Linked DNA regions of Homo sapiens: all the other regions are linked to region 3. Evidence: promoter capture Hi-C in 16 types of primary human blood cells and fetal thymus (Javierre and others, 2016). All regions are on one chromosome and are shown on one strand. The core of a region is centred on a gene start or on the middle of the fragment in contact, and the rest is flanking DNA. Distances in the headings are between cores, read along the strand shown.

Region 1 (3,711 bases), core at 457-2,956, 2.4 Mb before region 3:
CTTGACCTTGTAAGTTTCATTCACACACAAAAATTATAAATACTTAAACCAGATGATCCTGGATGACAAGATAAAACAACTGTCATGTCCCACTCAAGAGTAATAACTCATAAATTAGGGAAATCGAAATATTACACTAGGCACAAACTGCAAATCCTTGCCCTTCCATTCTAGGGATACTTAGTGTAAAACCTTAGCTATTTTGTATCAGAGAGGTGACACAATGCCTAATTAATGAATGAGAATCCTATATTTTATAAGATCTCCATTACCAAAGATTCAAATTATGATCATTTACTGCAATTTATTTATGTTGAACATCTTATTACCCAATAATGTTAGTTAAATGGAACAGATTATGAAAAATTAGCAATCTGTTTCAGAAAGTGCAAAACAGTCTTAGTCCTTACACAAACTGGCTTGGTTCAGATTTTCAATTCTAGGTTTGAATTCCGGAGGGACATTTAATAACAACAAAGCCAACCCCAAAGGAATTTGCTCTAATTTTTTCAATATATATGAAATAAAAAAACACAAAAACGGAATTATGAAATTACTATTCTGTGGATGGTGCATATACAAAACCTAAGCAATATCCCAGGTTTACTCAAGAGAAGTGAAGTTCAGAAGGACTGCAATTTACCTAATGTTACAGGACGTTTGAGTAGCAATCAGGGCAAGGAATTCCTCTCGAAATTTCAAAAACTTAATACGAAAAAATTACACATTGTCCCTGTAGTTATGAGCACCAAGAATCTGAATGCCCATTGGGAACTCTGCAATTCAGCAAGTCTTTGTAGCTACCAGAGTTCATCAGTATCTGGAACCTTATTTTACTCCAGCATCCAAATGACTTCTACTTAAAATCAATCTGAGGCATTAACTCCGGAGCCAGATCCCACCTGCTCTGCCAGGGCTAAAGAGAGGGTCAGATACAGGGATACTAGCTTTGGCGTTAAACCTAAGCTCAGCGCAGGGTGTGTCCAGGTTGCCGTGGAGCCGGTCCTACAGCCCATTAGCGCGAAGCTACCCCTTGTTTCCTGGAGATGATGTCTCCCGTGACTCCTTCCCCGCGTGACAGGGCGCCCTGGCAGGAGGGACACCCCGCCCCCTCTTCTACCTCTTTCCGAGGAGGCCCCAAGACCGGACCCCAGACTGGGCCTCCAAGACGACCACCAGTCTGACGTCTGCTAAGCAGTGAGTGTAGCAGGGCTCTCGACCGCCACCTCCAGCCGCCGGGGGACGGTGAAAGGGATTCCCCGCCGGGGGCCGAAGAGGAGGAGCCACGGGGGCCGGGCCCCTCCCCCAGCGGGCTTACCCTCCGCCGCCGCCTACTCGCTGCAGCCGCCCCGCTTCCTTGCGAAGCAGTCCGAAGCACTGCGTCCAGCAGCAGTTCCCCATCGCATGCCGCCCAGGCGCCGCCGCTCCTCCTCCTCCTCCCGCTCAATGCCCAAACCCAGGCCCGGCAGCTGCATCCGCACGGCACGAGCCGAAATGGGGTTCAAGGACCGAGGGCGGGCCGGCCAGAGCCCGGCGGCGTGAGGGCACGGGGCGACGAAAGACGAGGCGCTAGGGAACAAAGGCAGTGTTTACTCCAGCGGCCGCAGAGCCACCGCTGCGCGAGGGAGGAGCACCGGGCTCAAGGCTCTGGACTCCCTCGCCGTCCGCATGGCCCTTCTCGCCTCAGCTCCTAGCCCAGCGTGAGTGACCGCCTCCAGCTGCCGAAGGAGGCCAGTCCCCGCGAGCCGAGCACCCTGGCCCCGCCCCCAGCGCGCCCAGGCCCCTGCTCGCCGCCAACGCTGCCACACCCCCGGCCTCTCCCGCGCCCCAATTGGGCGCGCTACCTCGGTGCCCCGCCTTCTCTGGCGACCGGCCTGTGCGTCACTTCCGCTCGCTCCTGGTTCAGCCGCCTCTGCCTGCGAGACGGTTCAATTCCTGCGTGCGGACGTTTGTTTTGTTGGACCTTGACCTGACTAGGAAATTTCCCTCTCTCATTGCAGTTTCGGGCATCCTCGTCCGGAGCACGCTGGGCGTGGCATGGCTAAGGCTCAGCCTTCGAACTTTGTATCAAAGGCGTGTGAGGAGCCAGAGTCCCAGGCCGGAAGTCATAAGTGCGAAGGGGCGTTTCTCTGCACGGTGTGCTTAGTTTTTGTTAATACTGCACCATAAGCGGAAAATAGACTCGGGAACTGATTGAGGTTACTTTGAACGCACCAAGATTTTTTTCCGGTCTCTGGTTTGTGTCTTAATTTCCATACTGTTAATGTTTTAGGGAAACGTAATAATGGTGCATTATTGTCCTCGTTTTGTTTGAAAATCAGATCTTCACATAATTTTGGGTTGGGTAGTTGGGGTTCAGAGGAAATTGGCAAGAGGGCTGGGGTTTTTCGGGGACGTCAGCGTTGCCATTCCAAGCATGCTGCCCAGAACTGCTGTAGATGGGAAGAGAAAGCTGCTCTAATGTGTCCGCAGCCCTCTCAAGTGCTACCATATAATTCGCGTCTTGTTTGGCCTCAAGACAGTTGGCCTCACAATAGATATAAGATGTGGTTTAGTAGACACCTCGTCCAGTGGATAGGAGGATGCTCTCATGGACTGGACACATCAAGTTTTTAGCCTGTTTAATTAAACCTAGAAAAATTGTTACATTTTAGAAAGTTTTTATTGATGATAAAATGTTCTCTGAACTCATTTTCTTGCTTCTTTAAATACGTATCTGGTTTCAATCTTAGCACTGCTACTTACTAATGTTTATTTTATTTGGGTTTTAGTTGTTTTGTAATCAGAAGCATAGGATAACATTTGTCCCAATGGTTTGCTTTCAGTGAATGTTGGGATGACCGAATGACTTCCTAGTGAAAGCATTTTCTTTTCTCCTTCCAACCCCTGAAATTAGACAAATGTATTAATGAAATAATCATTAAAATTCAACTATAAATGTTTACAGAAACTGGTACATCTATCCTATGGAATATTTAGTAACAAATAGGAACACAGTATTGATGAACACACCCTGAAATGAATCTGTAGGAAATTATGGTTAAAGAAAAAGCCAATCTCAAATGCTTATATACTGTGTAATTCCATTATGTAACATCTCAGAATTGATAAATTTATGTAAGTGGACAACAGAATAATTGATTGCCATGGGTCAGGGAATGGAAATCCTGCATCTTGTCTATATTAATGTCAGTATTCTGGTTGTGATATTGCAATAGTTTTGTAACATGTCACCACTGGGGGAAACTAGATTAAAGATATACACGGTCATCTGTATATTATTTCTTAAAACTGCATGTGACACAATTGTCTCAATATAAAAAGTTTGATTAAAAAAATGCAGCTATAGACTTGACAGCACTTCCTATAGACATTCTATAAACCGTTATTAAAACTGAATCTCACTTAAAAATAATTTTTTTATAGTAAATCTGTTCTCTCAGTTAAGGATATGAATGATCCTCAGAAGCAATACAAATGAATAAGACATTTAAAAACTTCACTAAGCAAAATAATGCAAATTAAAATGCATGTTTTAGTCATTTGTATTGATTCACTTGTCAAGTTAACAAAGCTTTACAGTTAGAAATATTCAGTATTTGCAAGGATACAATGAAATGGTACTATTCTAAACTGCTGCAGATAATGAAACTCATTCTGAGAAATTATTTGGAAATACCAAGAGCCAGAAACAAACTAAATGCTCAAAAA
Region 2 (3,586 bases), core at 927-3,426, 2.3 Mb before region 3:
TGTACATTGTGCCACATCTAAGCAGATGCTATTGACATTTAAGGCATATAATAATGGACTAGAGATGTTTAGCCTTTCAGCTATGCATCAGGGCACAGAAACTCTTACATAAAGCCACCTGGCATTCACCCTCATGAACATACTTGGATCATCTCTCATACACACAATTACCAACACATATATGGAATAGCTGTGTCCTGTCCCTTCAGTTTCTTGGACATTCCCTGAAATTGCTTCTTTCCCTTGCTTATCTCTCTTTAGACACCTGATCCTATTTCAAACCTGGCACAGTTTCTTCATCTACAGGACTTGATTCATTCTCCCAAGGCCTCCTTTCTTAAGTGACTTGATTTTAACCAGGCATCCTTTGTCAATCGCCCTACCTGGAAAGACTCAGGCCAGAATGACAGAAGAACCTTCATTTTTTGCTCAAATGGAGTAGCATCTAAAGACAAATTGTTAAAAATGATGCAGACAATATCTTAACTAGTAATAAAACACCTATGTTAATACTAGGTGTTTTATATATTTCATATATATATGAAATAAGTAACAAAATAAAGATACATTTTGTTCTGGTATTGTAATAACAAGCTGATGAAAGAGCTTTCCAGGTTGAGGAAAAGGAATGAACCTTTCAGACAGAAGTGGAAAGAAAAATCAGTGAAGGAAGGGATGTATGTGGACGAGGATTTAGCTTGAGAAATAGCCCAAGAAAGAAACCTCCATCAAATTATTAGGAAAGGGCAAACTCTGTGAGGGGAATAGAAATAGAAAGGGACTTAATACAGAAAATTAGGTGTTGACAAAATCATTGAAAGAGCTAGAGGAGCACAAGTCAGGTGCCTCTGGAGCTATGGTGTTCAAGAGCATACAACCATAGCTCTTTTCTGGGTTAAAAGGAGCGCCTCTGCTAGCTCCTGCCTCTAATTTCCTCTCAATACCCATGAGGCTATCCATGACTCCGGAACACGAAGTGAGCGTGCCAAGTAGAAAAGACGGCAGGAAGATGGCCTCTGTCTCATTTCCAGCTAATTAGTTTTGGTTCTGTTCCTGTTTATATCATTGTTTTCATGGAAAAGTTCACCTTAAGTTCTAAATCATTAACTTAGAAACCAATCTTTCAAAAATATTCCATTTGTAATCTGGAGTCCTTGTATCCTTAAACCAACCAACAGGACAAACAAAAATCATCTCCCTAAATAAAAACTAAATAAAATGAGTCCTTGGGATATGTTCCATAGTTGTTAATTTCATTTCTTCCTCAAATATCTTTACACATGTAATACTATTTCTACCATCATTACATGGCAATGCATAATTTCATTTACAGAACTTGAAAAAAACTAGAAAACAAGGCTTTGTGATAACATTACCAAGAAACGTTTTATCAGAAAAGCTTGCTTTTTACAACAATGGGTTGGGTTGCACCAATTTTTTGCTTATTTTTGTCTTCTTGACTAATTCTTCTTTGGTGCTAATGTAGTAGGAAATGCCTATCTCCGGTGTGATTTTCAATTATTGTGTATGGGGGCTTAGAATACATTAATAAATCTTGAGGCAAAAACAGAATGATAAAAATAACACTTCAAAGGAGTACAGGAGAATGAACTTTCATGACATTCAATGAAGGAGGCAGGTATGCAAAGTGATATGTTTTCTAAGATGTACTTTTCATTTTTTGTTTTATCCTTTTACTTTGTACCATAAGCAATTTTGGAAAGACCACAACTATTAGTGATGTCTACATAATCATACTAATGAAGTACACAGAAGCTTAAATGAAGTATTTTTATATGCTCCCTTACAACTATTTGAAAATTTACTTTGGAAACCCCTGCTCAAATGCAACCCCTCCCCACCCCCAAAGGAATTCTTGTGCTGTCTTCTTCACTTTTCCAGTTAAGCAATTTAAGTTAGAGGAAATCAAGCCCTTGAGCAAATGAATAGTTAACGGGAAAAACCACTAGGAAGGGAATCCGAAGAACAAGCTACCAAATTATTTGCTTGAGTCACTTTCTCTTATATTGTCACAGATGAAAAATTACACTCCACGTGGTGATCAAACCTAACGCTAAGGCATATTTTGTGTGCCACACAGTATTACTCTGTTTCCTAAGTAACCTATTGAAACAATGTAAGGTATACATCTATTAATGCATTTAGTGATGATACTGGAATTTGTGAAACGTGACAGAAAGGACAGATGAAGAAAGATGAGGAGAGACAGGTATTAATTGTCCTAACAGTACAGGCTGTAATAAAGGCCAATAATCATTTGAATTCCTGCTCCTTAATGTGAGTCTAAAGAGCGGCTTACCTCAGGTATTTGGAAAGTCTAAATACTGTATTTGCTGTAGAAAATTCATCCAACATACAATTCAATTTTTAAAATTAAACCTTTTGCCTAATCTTTAAGATATTTGATGTTATAATGCCCATTATCACACTTTATTTAAATGAGATAAACTCAGAGAGTTTAAAAAATTACGCAACTTCTCTTTTCCCTTACTATGGCTGGCCTCTTATAACCGAAAGCAATATTCTTGCCTCTCCACTTTTTAACTGAAGCTTTGATCTCATCTGTATTTATGAAGAACGTGCTCTGGGAGAGTCCCTGTCAAGACATTCATTGTAACACCCGCTCCTACTCATGCTTTCAGCGCTGCCCGTGGACGGAATCCACCCACACCTTCCAGACACGCTAGGTGTGGGCTCGGAAACGCAAGATGGAGGGCGGGAGGGGAGCCGGCGTCTCCTAAACCTGGCGCAGGGCACGGACTCGAAGTTGAAAAAGAAGTGTTTACAAGTGAGGCTTTTAAATAAATCACCGCTATGGAGGGCATTTCCTCCGAGCCCTGGGCGCCAGCCTGAGAATCCTCTGCCGGACGCCAGGGGACGAACCACGCTGACCCCGCCAGACACGCGACCCCGGGGCCGGCGCTGGCGTCTGCACTCGCGCGACCCCGCCGCTCCTCCTGGGAGCGCCGTCTAACCGCTCCCGGCGACGACTTCCCAGAGCGCCGGGGAGCCAGTGCCCACGCGGGGCAGAGCTGCGGCGCGGCCCGCGGGCCGGGCCCCTTCCCTCCAACGCCGGGCGGGGCTCGCGGCCCCCGACCCGGCCGCTTCGCCGCCGCCCCTCCCCGCGCTCACCTGCTCGCTCTCCTTCGGCCGCTGTCCGCGCCGCCGCGGGCTCGCCCCGGGATCCCACCCGGTCCCTGCCGCCTCCCGCTCCGCCAGCGCGTCCCCGTCCTCGTCGCGTTCCCCGCCGTCGCCGCCCCGCAGCAGCTCCCCGGCTGAGCACATCCCGCAGCCAACTCCTACCGCCCCGGACAGCCGCCGGAGGACCACGCCGCGACGCACCAGGCAGCGCCGCCGCCCGAAGGCTGCCCTGGGATCCGCCGCACCCGCCGCTGACAGGAGCCGCCGGAGCGCGCCCCGCCGGCCTGGGCGCCTGAAGTACCAGCCCGGCCCCTCCTGTCACTGGCTCGCCCAACCCCCGGCCGTCGGGGCGGAGCCGTACAGGGGAGGGGCCAAGACAGGGGGCGGGGCCAACGGTGTGTTGGGGGGCGGGGGTGTGTGTGTG
Region 3 (3,380 bases), core at 421-2,920:
TTAACAATGATTCATTGTTTTCAAGGACATCTGGAATCTCAAAATAACTACCTTTATTTCTAACTAGACTGTCACCCCAAACTAAAATACCACATTCCTGCAAAACCAAGTCTTCATTCCTATCACCCAAGCTCAAAACCTGGAACCCTTTATTATCAGCATTAGCTAAGTTCTACCGATTTTGTTTCCTTTGAAATCTCTCTCCTATCTAACCCTTCCTTTTTTTTCCTCACTGTCACCATCCTGATTCAGGCTCTCAAGGTCTCATGTATGGACTGGTACAACAGCTTGTGGGCTGGGACCTTTTATTCTAGAAACTGCTCCTTTCAAACCATCCTGCATACTCATCCAAGCCATTCTTAGTTAGACACTACTCACCCTCTCTCCTCTTTAATGTAGTAAGTTTCACTTTCTGTGACTTCCATTCCCATCTCATTGTTAATTACTCTAAAACTACCCTAAATAGGTGTTTTTCTAGATTTCCTCTCTGGCAGTTTCCCTCTCAAGCAAATTGTTTTCTCACTTATCTACTTTTGAGTAGTAACAGAAAGCATGGGCTTTGGAGTCAGAATACTTGGCTTTGTATTTCTTTCTTTTCTGTACAGACAGGGTCTCCTGCTTTATTATCCAGGCTGGTCTCTAACTCCCGGCTTCAAAAGATCCTCCCGTCTTAGCTTCCCAAAGTGTTGGGATTACAGGCGTGAGCCACCGCACCCAGCCTGTATTTCAGCTATATCACTAATTGATCACTTATCACTAACCTTATGACCCCAGCAAAAAAACTTAACTCTAAATCATAGTTTTCTCATCTGTAAAATCGGGGAATTAGGCATAAGTACTCACGATTACCTATTTAATATCTTCCTGTCAACCCTCAAGTTCCACCTCCAAGATGCATTCTAAGTATCCCTCAGCTTTCTTGATCTCCCCACTCCACCCTTACATGCTACATTCTCCACACAGGCTTGTGTATCCCAAACTTGCTGCCTAACAACACAAACCCCCAACCCACACCTACTCCTTCAAATAAGCTAAATACTGAAGACTGCATACAGACTACACGTTCTGGAGGTCCTTGGTCTTGGCCTTTGTTAAAGCCTCCGCGGCCACCCCCTCGTCCAAATCCTCCCCTGCCGCCGCCTCTGAAATTGCCGCCGCCTCCACCGCCGCCTCCACCTCGGAAGTGGTTGCTGCTGCCACCTCGGTTGAAGCCGCCACCTCCACCACCTCGATTAAAGCCTCCACGACCTCCGCCTCGAAAAGACATTCTCTCTCCTCCCTGATGAAAAAAAAACGACCTATGTCTTCTGATCACTGTAGCCTCTGAGTATACTCCAACCCCTCGGAGCTGCGGTGAGAACACCATAAAGGAGACAAAAGCAGCCCTGTCACCTCACCCACGGTCAGACAGCCAGTGACCACCAACCTGATGGGTGAAGAGTTTACTTCTCCATGGTCTCGTGAGCGCCGACCGACCACACACCACCCTTGCCGCCCCATGATTAGTATCTCCTCCCCCTACAGACAGCAAGGTCTTCGCACCGCATCCCCTTCCTTCCTCCCTCCCTCCGGCAGTTGGGTTCCACGTCCAGCATTTTCAAATCCTCCGGCTTCTACGGCCACTCACCGGCGCCACGTGCCCCTCTGGCCCTGGCCTTGCGCACACACCCACCCGCGGGGTACTTCCGCCGCGCTGGAACCTCCTCGGTTACCGTACCGCCACAGAGTTTTTTAAAGACCAGAAACTTGAATAACTGGTTTGCCAAAAAAAAAAGCCAATCACCCGCGGAACAAGCAACACTGGTTCCAAAACAGCCTTTAGCGCTGGAAAAGTGGCAATAATAGATAACCTTAACCACTAATTTACAACAGAGAGGCCAACTTGCCTGACGCTGAGCCGTGGAAGTGACGTATAACAGCGGCGTCCTTTGCAGCACGACGTCCCGGAAGTGCTGCGGCAATGTTGCTCTTGGAGATAGCTGGCGTTAGGGATCCGCCTTCTCTCCCAGAGGCGGGGCAGGTTTCTGTTTGGTTGCCGCCCTAACGGCCAGAACTAAAGCACCTTGCAAGGAATGAAGTTGGTTCTTGAAGTCCGTGCTGACTGGCTGGGCGCATTTGCGCATTTGCTTCTCTGGCTGCAAAATGGCCCGCAACAGCACTCACTAATTTGTTGCTAACTTCAGGAACTGTGCGGACAGGTCTCTGAGGCTTCTGAGCCGCGCTATGTCCAGTAGATCTGGGCGCCTCAGAACCTGTCACAGCCGACGGAAGCGTTTATCTGAGTTTCTTGTTTCTTCCCAACCTTTTGATTTTCGCACCATTACGCGCTCAACTATGCCTCTTCTTTTGTCCTATGGTCTCAACTAATTAAAGGAAGAAAAGCAATGCATGTGTGTGTGTAATTTTAAAGAAACTATGCTGTCTTATAGAAAACCAAACCATCATTTTTATCTTTTGTACCAGGTATTCAAGTATGTTTTGAGCACCGACGGGCTGTGAACTGGACTGTGCTGAAAGCTCCTCTCCCTCTTCTCTCTTTAAGCCCTTTATATTTGACATCAGCTTCCCCCACATTCTCCAAAGCTTCTCTCACAAATAAAGGTAATGACTTCCCATTTATTAAATTTGGTTGGAGTCTTTTACACCCAAACCCTCTGAGACCTTACCTTGATATTTGATCTCGTGTTTAGAAGAGGGTGGAACTTGGTACCTATCTAATTCAGAGGGTTATTGTAAATGGGATTTTAAAATACCTTTGTAGGCGGGGCGTGGTGGCTCACGCCTGTAATCCCAGCACTTTGGGAGGCCAAGGCAGATGGATCACTTGAGATCAGGAGTTCGAGACCAGCCTGGCCAATACGGTGAAACCCCTTCTCTACTAAAAATACAAAAATCAGCCGGGCATGGTGGCACACGCCTGTAATCGCAGCTACTCGGGAGGCTGAGGCAGGAGAATCGCTTGAACCCGGGAGGCGGAGGTTGCCGTGAGCCGAGATCACGCCACTGCACTCCAGCCTGGACGACAGAGCAAGGCTTGGTCTCAAAACAAACAAAAAACAAAATAAGTGAGAGAGGAAACTTTACTTGTTCTTTTTCTTTTAGTTTAGTAAATGCTGCAATTTGATTTTAACGAATGTTGGTCTTTTTATGGGCCTATATAAGTGTATTATTTTTGAAACAAAAAATGAAAATTACCTATTTAGTATGAAACCTTTGCTTATCTTTTGCTGTGTATTTGCTCAATTCTGAATTGAACTTGAGATTGTCACACACAGATTGCATTTTCAACTGAAATGAGATGATTTTTGTCTTTACTCTTAAAACTTAGTGAGAAAAAGCTTGCTTGAACAAGAAGTTTTAAAGTATGTCAAAATGTTTAT
Region 4 (3,299 bases), core at 556-3,055, 2.1 Mb after region 3:
TGCTGCAACCCCATACTTAAGAGATCCAAGGTTTCAGGACCATCCCAATACATCTCAGCACTATACCAGCTCCCATTGACCCAGGCTGTAAGACCATTTCTGTGGACCCAGGTTCCAGGCCAGCACCCATATGCTGAGCATCTAGGTCAGCTCCCATGGCTTCAGGGCAGGTCCTGTGATTCTAGGTAGGCTTCAGACCAACCACTGTAGACCTAGGCTTCCACATCCGCTCCAGCACCAGCTGAGCTCTGCCTACCTGCTGACCCAGATACCAGGCCAGCCTCCCTGAGGACTCCAGCAGCAAGCCTGCCTGTGCACCATGCCAGATGGCCTTCCCAGATTGGACAGGCTGACTGGTGAAGTGCTTCCCAAATAAAGCCAGTCTACAAAGACTGGAATCAGTCCCTACCTCTTCATTGTACAGATATTGATATAAGACAACAAGAAATGTGAAAAAACAAGGAGACTTAATACTACCAAAAGTATCAAAATAACCTTCCAGTAGCTGATTCAAAAGAAATGGAGATACATGAACTGCCTGAAAAAGAATTAAAAAATAATTGTTTAAGGAAGCCCAGCAAACCTCAATAAAATAGAAATAATTCAGTGTATTCTGGAAAACAACAAATGACCAACATGAGAAATTTAACAGATTGAAATTATTAAAAAAATAAAAAATTCTAGAGCTGAAAAATTTAATGAATAAAATGAAAAATGCAATAGAGAGCATCCATAGAAGCACTGATCAAGCAAAATAATTGTACTTGAAGACAGATTTCTTCCATAGTTAGAGGAGGAAAAAGAAGAATGAAAAGTAATGGAGAAAGCTTACAGGATTTATAGGACAGCATCAAAAGTACAAAAATTGAGGTATAGGAGTTCAAGGAGAAGAGAAAGAGGGTTACAAAGCTTATTTAAATAACAACAGAAAACTTTCCAAATCTGGGGAAAGGTATAAATAAGTACAGGAAGATCAAAAGTTCTAATCAGATTCAATCCAAACAAGACTACCTCAAGACATATAGTTAAACTGTCAAAAATAAAAGAGGATTCTGAAAGCAGCTAGAGAAAAGCAAATCACATACAAGGGAGTTCCAAAAATGCTAGCAGCAGACTTTTCAGCAGAAATTTTGTAGTCCAGGAGAGACTGGGTTGACATGTTCAAAGTGTTGAAGGAAAAAAACCCTGCCAACAAAGAATACTGTATTCAACAATGCTGTAATTCACAAACACAAACATACAGACTTGCCTAGACAAAGCTAAGGGAGTTCATCACTACCAGACATGTCTTAAAAGAAACACTAAAGGGAGTTCTCCAAGCTGAAATAAAAGGATGCTAATTAGTAACATGAAAGTATAAAACTCACTGGTAAAAGTAAGTCCACGGTCAAGTTCAGAATAAATACTGTAATTGTCGTGTGACAATAATTTATATCTCCGGTATGAATGTTAAAAGACAATTAACAATAGTGACAATAATTTGTTAAGGGATGTCTTCACTGTTGAGTTCTACCAAACATTTAAAGAAAGATTAATGCCAGTCTGTATTAGTTCGTTTTCACACTGGTATAAAGAACTCTCTAAGACCAGGTAAACTATAAAGAAAAGAGGTTTAATTGACTGACAGTTCTGCATGACTGGGGACGCCCCAGGAAACTTATAATCATGGCGGAAGGTGAAGAGGAAGCAGGGCACATCTTACATGGTGGCAGGAGAGAGAGAACAAGGGGGGAAGTGCCACACTTTGGAACTATCAAATCTTGTGAGAACTCACTATCACGAGAGCAGCATGGGTGAAAGCACCCCCATGATCTGATCACCTCCTACCATGTCGCTCCCTCCACACATGGAGATTACAGTTCGAGATGAGATTTGTGTGGGGACACATAGCCAAACCATATCACGATTTTTTCTCAAACTCTTCCAAAAAATTAAAGAGGGAATACTTCCAAATTTATTTTATGAGGCCAGCATTACCTTGATACCAAAGCCACAAAAGGACACTAGAAGAAAAGAAAATCACAGGCCAGTGTCCCTGATGAACATAGATGCGAAAATCCTGAACACATAGTAGCAAACTGAATTATATAGCACATTAAAGGATCATTCCTCCTTATCAAGTGGGATTTATTTCAGGGATGCAAAGATGGTTCAACATAGGCAATTTTTTCTTTTTTTTTTTGAGGTGGAGTTTTGCTCTTGTCACCCAGGCTCGAGTGCAATGGCATGATCTTGGCTCACTGCAACCTCCGCCTCCTGGGTTCAAGCAATTCTCCTGCCTCAGCCTTCTGAGTAGCTGGGACTACAGGTGCATGCCACCATTCCCGGCTAATTTTTGTATTTTTAGTAGAGACGGGGTTTCTCCACATTGGCCTGGCTGGTCTCAAACCCCTGACCTCAGGTGATCCGCCTGCCTCGGCCTCTGAAGTGCTGGGATTAGTGGTGTGAGCCACCATGCCCAGCTAACATATGCAAATTAATAAAGGTGATGCACCACACTAACAGAATGTAGGGCAAAAAACCTATGATCATCTCAATAGATGCAGAAAAATTATTTGAAAGAGTTCATTAACCTTTTATGATAAAAACTCTCAACAAATTAGGAAAAGAAGGAATGTACTTCAACGTAATAAGGGCTACATAGTTCAAGCCCACAACTGACATCATACTCAATGGTAAAACAGGAAAAGTTGAAAGCTTTCCCTCTAAGATCAGGAGCACAACAAGGGTGCCCACTCTTACCACTTCTATTCAGCATAGTACTGGAGGTCCTAGACAGAGCACTTAGACGAGAAATAAATAAAAGGCATCCAAATTGGAAAAGTAGAAGTTAAATTGTTCCTGTTTGCAGATGACGTGGTTTTAAATAATATGGAAAACCCTAAAGATTTCACCAGAAGACTGTTAGAATAAATAAATTTAGTAAAGTTGCAGAATACAAACTCAACATTAGAAAAGTAGTAGTGTTTTTATATTCTAACATTGAAGTACCTGTAAAAGAAATAAGAAAACAATCTCATTTATAGTTGCTACCAGAAAAATAAAATACTTGGGAATACATTTAACCAAGGAAGTAAGAGACCTGTATACTGAAAACTGTGAAACATTGATGAAAAAAATTGAAGACAGAAATAAAAGGAAACATTGTATGTATTCATGGATTGAAAGAATTAATATTGTTAAAATGTCCATACTACTTAAAGTGATCTACAGATTCAATGCAATCCCTATAAAAATTCCAAGGATTCTTCACAGAAATAGAAAAAGCAGTTCTAAAATTTGTATGGAACCACAAAAGA
Region 5 (3,642 bases), core at 707-3,206, 2.8 Mb before region 3:
CTGAGATCACTCCAGCCTGGGAGAAAGAGACTCAAACAAAACAAACAAAAAAAAACTGTATGAGGGTCTAAATGGCATTGCATATTTGGCGACCTAAAATGACACATTTTAGTGTATGTAACTGCAGATTAAGATTTGAACACAAATTATTAGCAATACCCAGACATTCAAAGAGGACATCTGGATCCCATCCTATTAGAAACAAGCACAAGGTTGGCTATTTGAAATTTAGCAACTGGGGATGGTGGCTCAATGCTTCTTATCTCAGCAATTCAGGGGTGAAGGTAAATCTCTTGAGCTCAGGAGCTCAAGACCAGCCTGGGCAACATGGTGGGACCCCATATCTCTTAAAAATGCCAGAAAAAAAAGCCGGCCTGGTGATGCTTGCCTGTGTTCTCAGCTACTGGGGAGGCTGATGGAGGATCGCTTGGGTGGGGCTGAGGGGGTGGAGGTGGGGGCAGAAGTTGGAGTGAGCAGACATGGAGCCAGTGCATTCCTGCCTAGGGAAAAAAGATAGACCTTGCCTCAAAAAAATGAAACAAAAAATAACATTGAGCTAGGTGAAATGCCTTCTTGTATGAACTAAAGTATAGCACTCTCGAGTTACACATGATGAATGGTTATTGAAGCAATTAAATCCCAAAATACTTAAAAGCTTTGATTTGAAATTGCTTATTTAATATAGCCTAAACTGTTACCAACAGTCTTTATTTAGAAGATTGTCATTCACTAAATAAAAATTAGAACAGATTACACGGAACACACTTACAGAAACGAATATACACATTATAGAATATACTATTTTAGGCTGGGTGTAGTGGCTCACGCCTGTAATCCCAGCATTTTGGGAGGCTGAGGTGGGCAGATCACAAGGTCAGGAGTTCGAGACCAGCCTGGCCAACACAGTAAAATCCCATCTCTACTGAAAATACAAAAATTAGCCGGGCATGGTGGTGCTTGCCTGTAGTCCCACCTACTCGGGAGGCTGAGGCAGGAGAATCACTTGAACCCAGGAGGCAGAGGTTGCAATGAGCTGAGATCATGCCACTGCACTCCAGCCTGGGCAACAGAGCAAGACTCCAACTCAAAAAAAAAAAAAAAAAAAGAATATATTATTTTATAAGTAAATTTAAAGGCAACCATATCTAAAAATTGGTTCCTTTACTGAAGCAAACTTACATCCATCTCTAGATTTTTCTATCTGTTCTCGAAGAAATCTATCCTTGTGAAGATTTGCATCCCCAAACCAGAAGTCCACTTGCTTAGCAATATCTGCAAGCACCTGTTTAACTCGTGACCGTTTCTTTTTTTCAACTTCTTTTTTCTTTTCAGTGCTTTCTTCTTCCATTACCTTTTCCTGATTTCCACTTTCAGTTTCCATTCCTGTGAATTACAAGAAAAAGATGTAAATATTTAAATCACCACAATAGCTAATATAGTTAAATATTTAGATTAGCCTTTAACTGTCTGAGAGAATAATGGACTCACATTTGGCCATCAGAAGACAAACAGAAAGAACATTCATTTTTATATTTAATAAATTAAATTTAAAAATAATTTACCTTCTATGTTAGGGATCATAGCTTTAGTTTCTTTGTACCTTTTAAAACACAGGGCCAGATTATCCTAGAATAATATAAAAAATTACACCTTTATCTCACTAAGCTGCACTTTTAAGTCAGTAAGTGAAAAGTGTAAGATTAAGGGACGTGGACACTCTCCATCGCAACACCCCCTCCTCTCCATCGCAACACCCCCCCGCCCCCGCCCCACCCCAGAGAAGTTGTATTCGCTTTTTTTTTTTTTCTTGGAGACAGTTTCCCTTTTGTTGTGCAGGCTGGAGTGCAGTGGCGTGAACTTGGCTGACTGCAACCTCCATCTCCCGGGTTCAAGCAATTCTCCTGCCTCAGTCTCCCAAGTAGCTGGGACTACAGGCACATGCCATCATGCCCGGCTAATTTTTGTATTTGTAGTAGGAGACGGGGTTTCACCATGTTTGCCAGGTTTGTCTTGAATTGCTGTCCTGGTGATCTGCCCGCCTCCGCCTCCCAAAGTGCTAGGATTACAGACATGAGCCGCCGCGCCTGGCAATTTTGATTTTTAAAATGTTAATTTCTGCTTTCTAGGGGCAGAATTCAACTGGTAAGCTGTAGAAATCAGCCTCTTCTCTCTTCTCTTTCTTCTTCTCTTCTCTTTTCTTTGAGGCAGTCTTCCTCTGTTGCCCAGGCTGGAGTGCAGTGGCATGATCTCAGCTTACTGCAAGCTCTGCCTCCTGGGTTCAAGCGATTCTCCCTGCCTCAGCCTCCCAAGTAGCTGGGAATACAGGCACCACTGCCAATCACACCCGGCTAATTTTTGTATTTTTAGTAGAGACAGAGTTTCACCATGTTGGCCAGGCTGGTCTCGAACTCCTGACCTCAGGTGATTCGCCAGCCTCAGCCTCCCAAAGTGCTGGGATTATAGGTGTGAGCCACCGCGCCCAGCCATAAATCAGCCTTTTCAAGTGGCCTTCTCATCCCAGTGTTTATTTCTTGGGCAGCAATTTCTAACCCCCTCCTTCCTCAAGTTACTTTCAGTATCTCTTCCCCTTTGCTTTGTCAGCTCCAGCCATACAGTCCTTGCACTTCTTGAAGCTCACCCAGCAATGTCTAACGGGGTCTTTTAAACCTGTTCTCTTTGAAACACATATCCCCAGAGATAACACAGCTTGCTCTCCTACTTCAAGTGTTTATTTAAATGTCACCTCAGTGCGGTCCCCTCCCACAATCATATTTAATAATGCAAATTTCTGGATACATACACAGTAACTCCCCTGCCTTATTTTTGTTCATAGCATTTATCATCTTCTAACATTACTATCACCACTATGCAATTTATTTCTTTGTTGTTTATCCTTCCTAGATGGTAAGATCAATGAAATCAGAGATTTTTGTTTGTTTACTGATATATTGTCAGTCCCTGCCATACAGTCACTTAAAAATGTGTTGAATAAATTGTGCCTCGATTTTGTTGAATGAATTGAATCACTAGTGGTATAGGAGCAAAGGATTAATATCAGGCCTGGGATAATACAGGCTGCTTGAGAATAACCTCAGTCTCCTATAATACAGTCTTCTTGGAAACTGGAGAGACTAATGGGGGTGTTGTATCTGTTTCCCATGTTGCACCTGGTTTGGAGCAGCTATTAGATGGCATGGAGGCCTTATGCCTACGTGACCAGAACAACAGATTGATAGGCAAAAGAGGTTAAAGCTTTCACGTGTCAAAGTGTCCTAAATACACCATGGTCCTTATCTAGGGAAGGCATACATGCCTGTTGTGGGTAAATGGGAGAAAAAAGTAGTGAATTTGGGTAATTGCTAGATATGGGTAAATGGCTTGGTGGCCTCTGGTGGGATGAAGAAGCTGCATCTACCCTATCTTTTGCCTTGACTCTTCTTTGGTAAGCAGTATTTGCATCTCTTGAGTCTGACTGCTGGTTAGAATCTCTAACTGCTACAGTGATGCTGCTGATAGTAACAGAAATAGATAATGTGTTTCAAAGTGATATCCAGTAAGAGGGTACAAAGCCCTTAATGCATTTCACCTCAAATCTCCAACTAAACATGCATTCTCATCAAACTCAACAGAAGTACATTTTGG
Region 6 (3,406 bases), core at 835-3,334, 2.5 Mb before region 3:
TTATCTTCCACCTGCTCTCATGTTCATCAGCTGAGAGAAGGTACCCTGACTGTCACTTCTAGAGAAGAAATAATAAATGTTGATGATTAACAAAATTGCAGCCCTTACGGGAATCTGCCTCACTTGTAAATGTACCCTTCTTTCCCCACAGTCACTGTACTTGATTATACCTAGCTCTGACACAGTTCAAAACTTAACCGCACCCATAGCACCTCTTTATCAGGTGGACATCAGTGTCATTTTATTGCCAGTGAAACTGATCCACAAACAAGCAACTCTCCTGAACTCAAGGACAGAAGACAGACAAGGGGCTTCCACTCATTTCCATCATCAGAATTTGGTTTCCCATGCGAAGAAGTAGGCCGCTGTGATCTCAGCCAAGCCAAGTTTTGTCCTCCTTCCTCTATCTATCCTCAGTCTTCTTTCTCCTTCTATGGCAAGGGTCCCCAACCTCTGGGCCATGGACTGGCAGTGGTCCATGGACTGTTAGGAACCCAGCGGCAAAGCAGGAGGTGTGCTCAGGGCCAGCAAGCGAAGCTTCATCTGTATTTACAGCTGCTAACCGTCACCTGTGTTACTGCCTGAGCTCTGTTTCCTGTCAGATCACTGGGGCATTAGATTCTTATAGGAGCAGGAACCCTGCACATGGGAGGGATCTAGGTTGCCCGCTTCTTATGAGAATCTAATGCCTGATGATCTGTCACTGTCTCCCATCACCCCCAAATGTGTCCGTCTAGTTGCATGAAAACAAGCTCAGGACTTCCACTGATTCGACATTATGGTGAGTTGTATAATTATCTCATTATATATTACAATGCAATAATAATAGAAATAAAGTGCACAATAAATGAAATGGGCTTGAATCATCCTGAAACCATCTCCCGTGGCCCCAACCCCAGTCTGTGGAAAAAGTCTTCCATGACACTGGTTCCCAACAGGGATTGCTGGTCTCTACAGTGTCTATCCTCTCTCTCTCTTTTTCTTTAAACAGAGTCTCACTCTGTTGCCCAGACTGGCGTGCAATGGCGCCATCCCGGCCTCACTGCAACCTCTGCCTCCCGGATTCAAGTGATTCTCCTGCCTCAGCCTCCCGAGTAGTTGGGATTACAGGCACCCACCACCAAGCCCAACTAACTTTTGTATTTTTAGTAGAGATGGAATTTCGTCATGTTGGCCAGGCTGGTCTCAAACTCCTGGCCTCGTGATCCGCCCACCTCGGCCTCCCAAAGTGCTGGGATTACAGGTTTGAGCCACGGCACCCGGGTCTATCCTCTCTTGACACCTACTCTCCTTAGGTTCTTCACACTTAGGTGATTCCAAATCTTTTCACTGAGGCAGAAAGGTAGCATTACCTTCTTCTAAGCTATAAAGGACTCCTGAGAGGTGTTTCCCATTTCATCATGTACCAGCTTTTACTTGTGGACTCTGGATGTCCATTACGATGCAAGCGGCAGGAGAGAAAGCGACTGGACTGCTCTGCTGGGTGTAAGGCGAGGGCAACCTGGAGCAAGTTCAAATCCCGCCTCTGCGGGAGGCAGAGGTTGCAGTGAGCCGAGATGGCGCCACTGCACTCCAGCATGGGCGACACGGTGAGACTCGTCTCAAAAAAAGAAAAAAAGAAAAAAAAAATTCCACTTCTGCTCGCCACACTCCACCATTCTCTGAGCCTCGGTTTACTCATGTGTAAGGGGGACTGCGATGATTAGAGGAGCTCGTGCATGCCACGCACTGGCTTGCTTGGTATCCTTGGAGTCACCGAAAGATTAGTTCAGCTCCCCGCCTGCCCACGCCCTGGGGCAACACTCATTTTGGGGAAAAGTCCTCCTTAATGCTGAAGTGATCCAGTTCCCTTCTTTTCTCTAGCTCGCCAATCGGGCTGGAGGAGAGGCCACTCGTTTGGGAAGGCGCGGTCCGGGTCGGTGTACCGCGCACCAAACCCTGCCAGAGAACTGAGAGAGGCGGCCAGGGGGCTGGGTACCTGGTGAGAAAGGCGCCAGCTGCCGGGTCACCTCGAGAGGAAGGAAGGGGCGGGAGCGCGAGTGGAGCGGGCGGAGCCTGAAAACCTCCGCGCCACCGCTGCGCTCTTTACAAAGGCCCCGGGCGCGAGAGGACGTGCTCTGCCAGCCAGTGGGAAGGCAGGCCGCGCGCGCGGGAGCGCGGGAGGATCGGCGGCTCGCGGTCACTGGTCCCTGGCTCGGTTCCCCGCACCCCGGGGCTCACACTTACCCGCGCGGAGGAGCAGCGGCCGGGTGTCCACCCCCATCCTGCGCCCAGTCTCCTCGATTCCCCTCGCTCTGAGCCGGGAGAGCCGAACAGCTGAAGAGAGTTCACTGACTCCCCAGCCCCAGGTACTTGCGGGGCGGCGGGCTGGGGGTGAGGTGGGGACTGGCCCTTTTCTGTTTATCCCGCAAAGACAGCAGCTTTGTCCAGGAGATTTTGGGGGTGTCGGATCGGAAGTCATCCCCCGCTGCTCCTGCTCACCTGGCACACGCTCACCATATGCTAAGGAAAGCCTGCAAAAATTATAGACAGCACCTCCCTGTTTTATAAAATATGAGAATATTTACATAAATGAGGAAACATTGGAGATGGGGGTGTGTTTTCTCTGTACTTTGGTATTCTTTTCAACGTTTTTCTAATCAGAAAACAAAAACGAATGCCATTTATGCAGTGTGGCTCCAGAGCAGTTGTGCGTGACCCCCCTCCCCCGCTTGCCAACTGCTACGGCCCCACGCTCTCGGTGGCCAAGCGAGACCTTTCTGAGGGGCCCTGGGCTCCCTGGAGTGCCGAGGTCCTTGGTCCTAGACCTGACTCCTTGCTTCAGTCTGGTTCATGAGAGAAATATAGTAATCCGTTGTTTTCTGGGACTTTCCCCAGATTTCAGATTGAAAGGTGGAATTTCCCAAATCCTCTGAAGCCAAAATCCACACTGAGCCTCACTGCGGATTTCCGCAGCCACCAGGAAGTGGGACTGGACCCCAGGTCAGGCCAGTCAAGTAGAGTGGGAGAAAGAAAATCTCATGTCTGAAAGACACCGAGCTTTCCTAAGGGTTTCCTCCTGCTGTTTGGTTTTCACTTTTTTTTTTTTTTTTTGATTCTTTGTTTTTGCAAGACCTGTGGTTTTAGTATTAATTCTGCCAAACAGCTGTGCCAGAGTTCACAAATATCTTCAGAGCCACACTTCAGGGTGATCCTGTTGAGCAGGGTTAGACAGGAGGATAACTTGGTCCTTTGCTCTGCTTCCAAGTTTCTGTTCCCCTCCTGTGTGCTCAGTGTTCGGTATTCGTTAGGGAGAAAAGCCTTGAAACTTCCTACTTGCAACCACCCAAAGACATACTCTTTCTTGAGAATATATTCAGGGGGAACTGGGGAGGCGAGGGGGTTGGGGGGAAATGAAAGTAAACAT

The links. Contacts are between HindIII fragments. The CHiCAGO score rates a contact against its expected background, and 5 or more counts as called.
Region 1: the fragment with the promoter of AP1AR here is called in contact with the fragment with the promoter of GAR1 in region 3 in 1 of 17 cell types (total B cells); the score reaches 7.5 in total B cells.
Region 2: a contact is called between a fragment that was not itself captured here and the fragment with the promoter of GAR1 in region 3, in 2 of 17 cell types (total B cells and naive B cells). The highest score is 5.7, in total B cells.
Region 4: a contact is called between a fragment that was not itself captured here and the fragment with the promoter of GAR1 in region 3, in 1 of 17 cell types (fetal thymus). The highest score is 6.3, in fetal thymus.
Region 5: a fragment that was not itself captured here is called in contact with the fragment with the promoter of GAR1 in region 3 in 1 of 17 cell types (total B cells); the score reaches 6.6 in total B cells.
Region 6: a contact is called between the fragment with the promoter of TIFA here and the fragment with the promoter of GAR1 in region 3, in 2 of 17 cell types (non-activated CD4 T cells and total B cells). The highest score is 6.2, in non-activated CD4 T cells.

Annotation. Positions count from the first base shown.
Region 1 is chr4:112,229,782-112,233,492 of GRCh38, reverse strand. It overlaps AP1AR (adaptor related protein complex 1 associated regulatory protein), which reads right to left and starts at 1,706. Exons shown (of 10, transcript NM_018569.6): 1 at 1,319-1,706. The coding sequence starts at 1,401. AP1AR-DT (AP1AR divergent transcript) reads left to right here and starts at 1,343. Exons shown (of 1, transcript NR_186684.1): 1 at 1,343-3,711. RefSeq lists enhancers at 912-961, 986-1,933 and silencers at 1,172-1,441, 1,602-1,881. The HindIII fragment of the contact is 11,290 bases long and covers 1-3,576 here.
Region 2 is chr4:112,145,301-112,148,886 of GRCh38, reverse strand. It overlaps FAM241A (family with sequence similarity 241 member A), which reads right to left and starts at 3,433. Exons shown (of 2, transcript NM_152400.3): 1 at 3,154-3,433. The coding sequence starts at 3,306. RefSeq lists an enhancer at 2,523-2,662 and a silencer at 3,003-3,586. The HindIII fragment of the contact is 795 bases long and covers 1,779-2,573 here.
Region 3 is chr4:109,814,052-109,817,431 of GRCh38, reverse strand. It overlaps GAR1 (GAR1 ribonucleoprotein), which reads right to left and starts at 1,670. Exons shown (of 7, transcript NM_018983.4): 1 at 1,628-1,670; 2 at 1,054-1,279. The coding sequence starts at 1,267. GAR1-DT (GAR1 divergent transcript) reads left to right here and starts at 2,050. Exons shown (of 2, transcript NR_186620.1): 1 at 2,050-2,601. RefSeq lists enhancers at 925-994, 1,165-1,214, 1,565-1,614, 1,625-2,024, 2,195-2,294. The HindIII fragment of the contact is 3,017 bases long and covers 1-2,585 here.
Region 4 is chr4:107,703,835-107,707,133 of GRCh38, reverse strand. All of the region lies in intron 1 of PAPSS1 (3'-phosphoadenosine 5'-phosphosulfate synthase 1), which reads left to right. Among named protein-coding and RNA genes, the nearest start is that of PAPSS1, 15 kb to the left of the region's middle. RefSeq lists a silencer at 2,077-2,241. The HindIII fragment of the contact is 1,788 bases long and covers 912-2,699 here.
Region 5 is chr4:112,642,409-112,646,050 of GRCh38, reverse strand. LARP7 (La ribonucleoprotein 7, transcriptional regulator) reads right to left here. Exons shown (of 13, transcript NM_016648.4): 2 at 1,180-1,383. The coding sequence starts at 1,381. Among named protein-coding and RNA genes, the nearest start is that of MIR367, 3.7 kb to the left of the region's middle. RefSeq lists a silencer at 2,245-2,346. The HindIII fragment of the contact is 2,597 bases long and covers 658-3,254 here.
Region 6 is chr4:112,284,582-112,287,987 of GRCh38, reverse strand. TIFA (TRAF interacting protein with forkhead associated domain) reads left to right here and starts at 2,084. Exons shown (of 2, transcript NM_052864.3): 1 at 2,084-2,348. RefSeq lists enhancers at 353-472, 2,982-3,101, 3,132-3,311 and a silencer at 2,032-2,341. The HindIII fragment of the contact is 2,980 bases long and covers 540-3,406 here.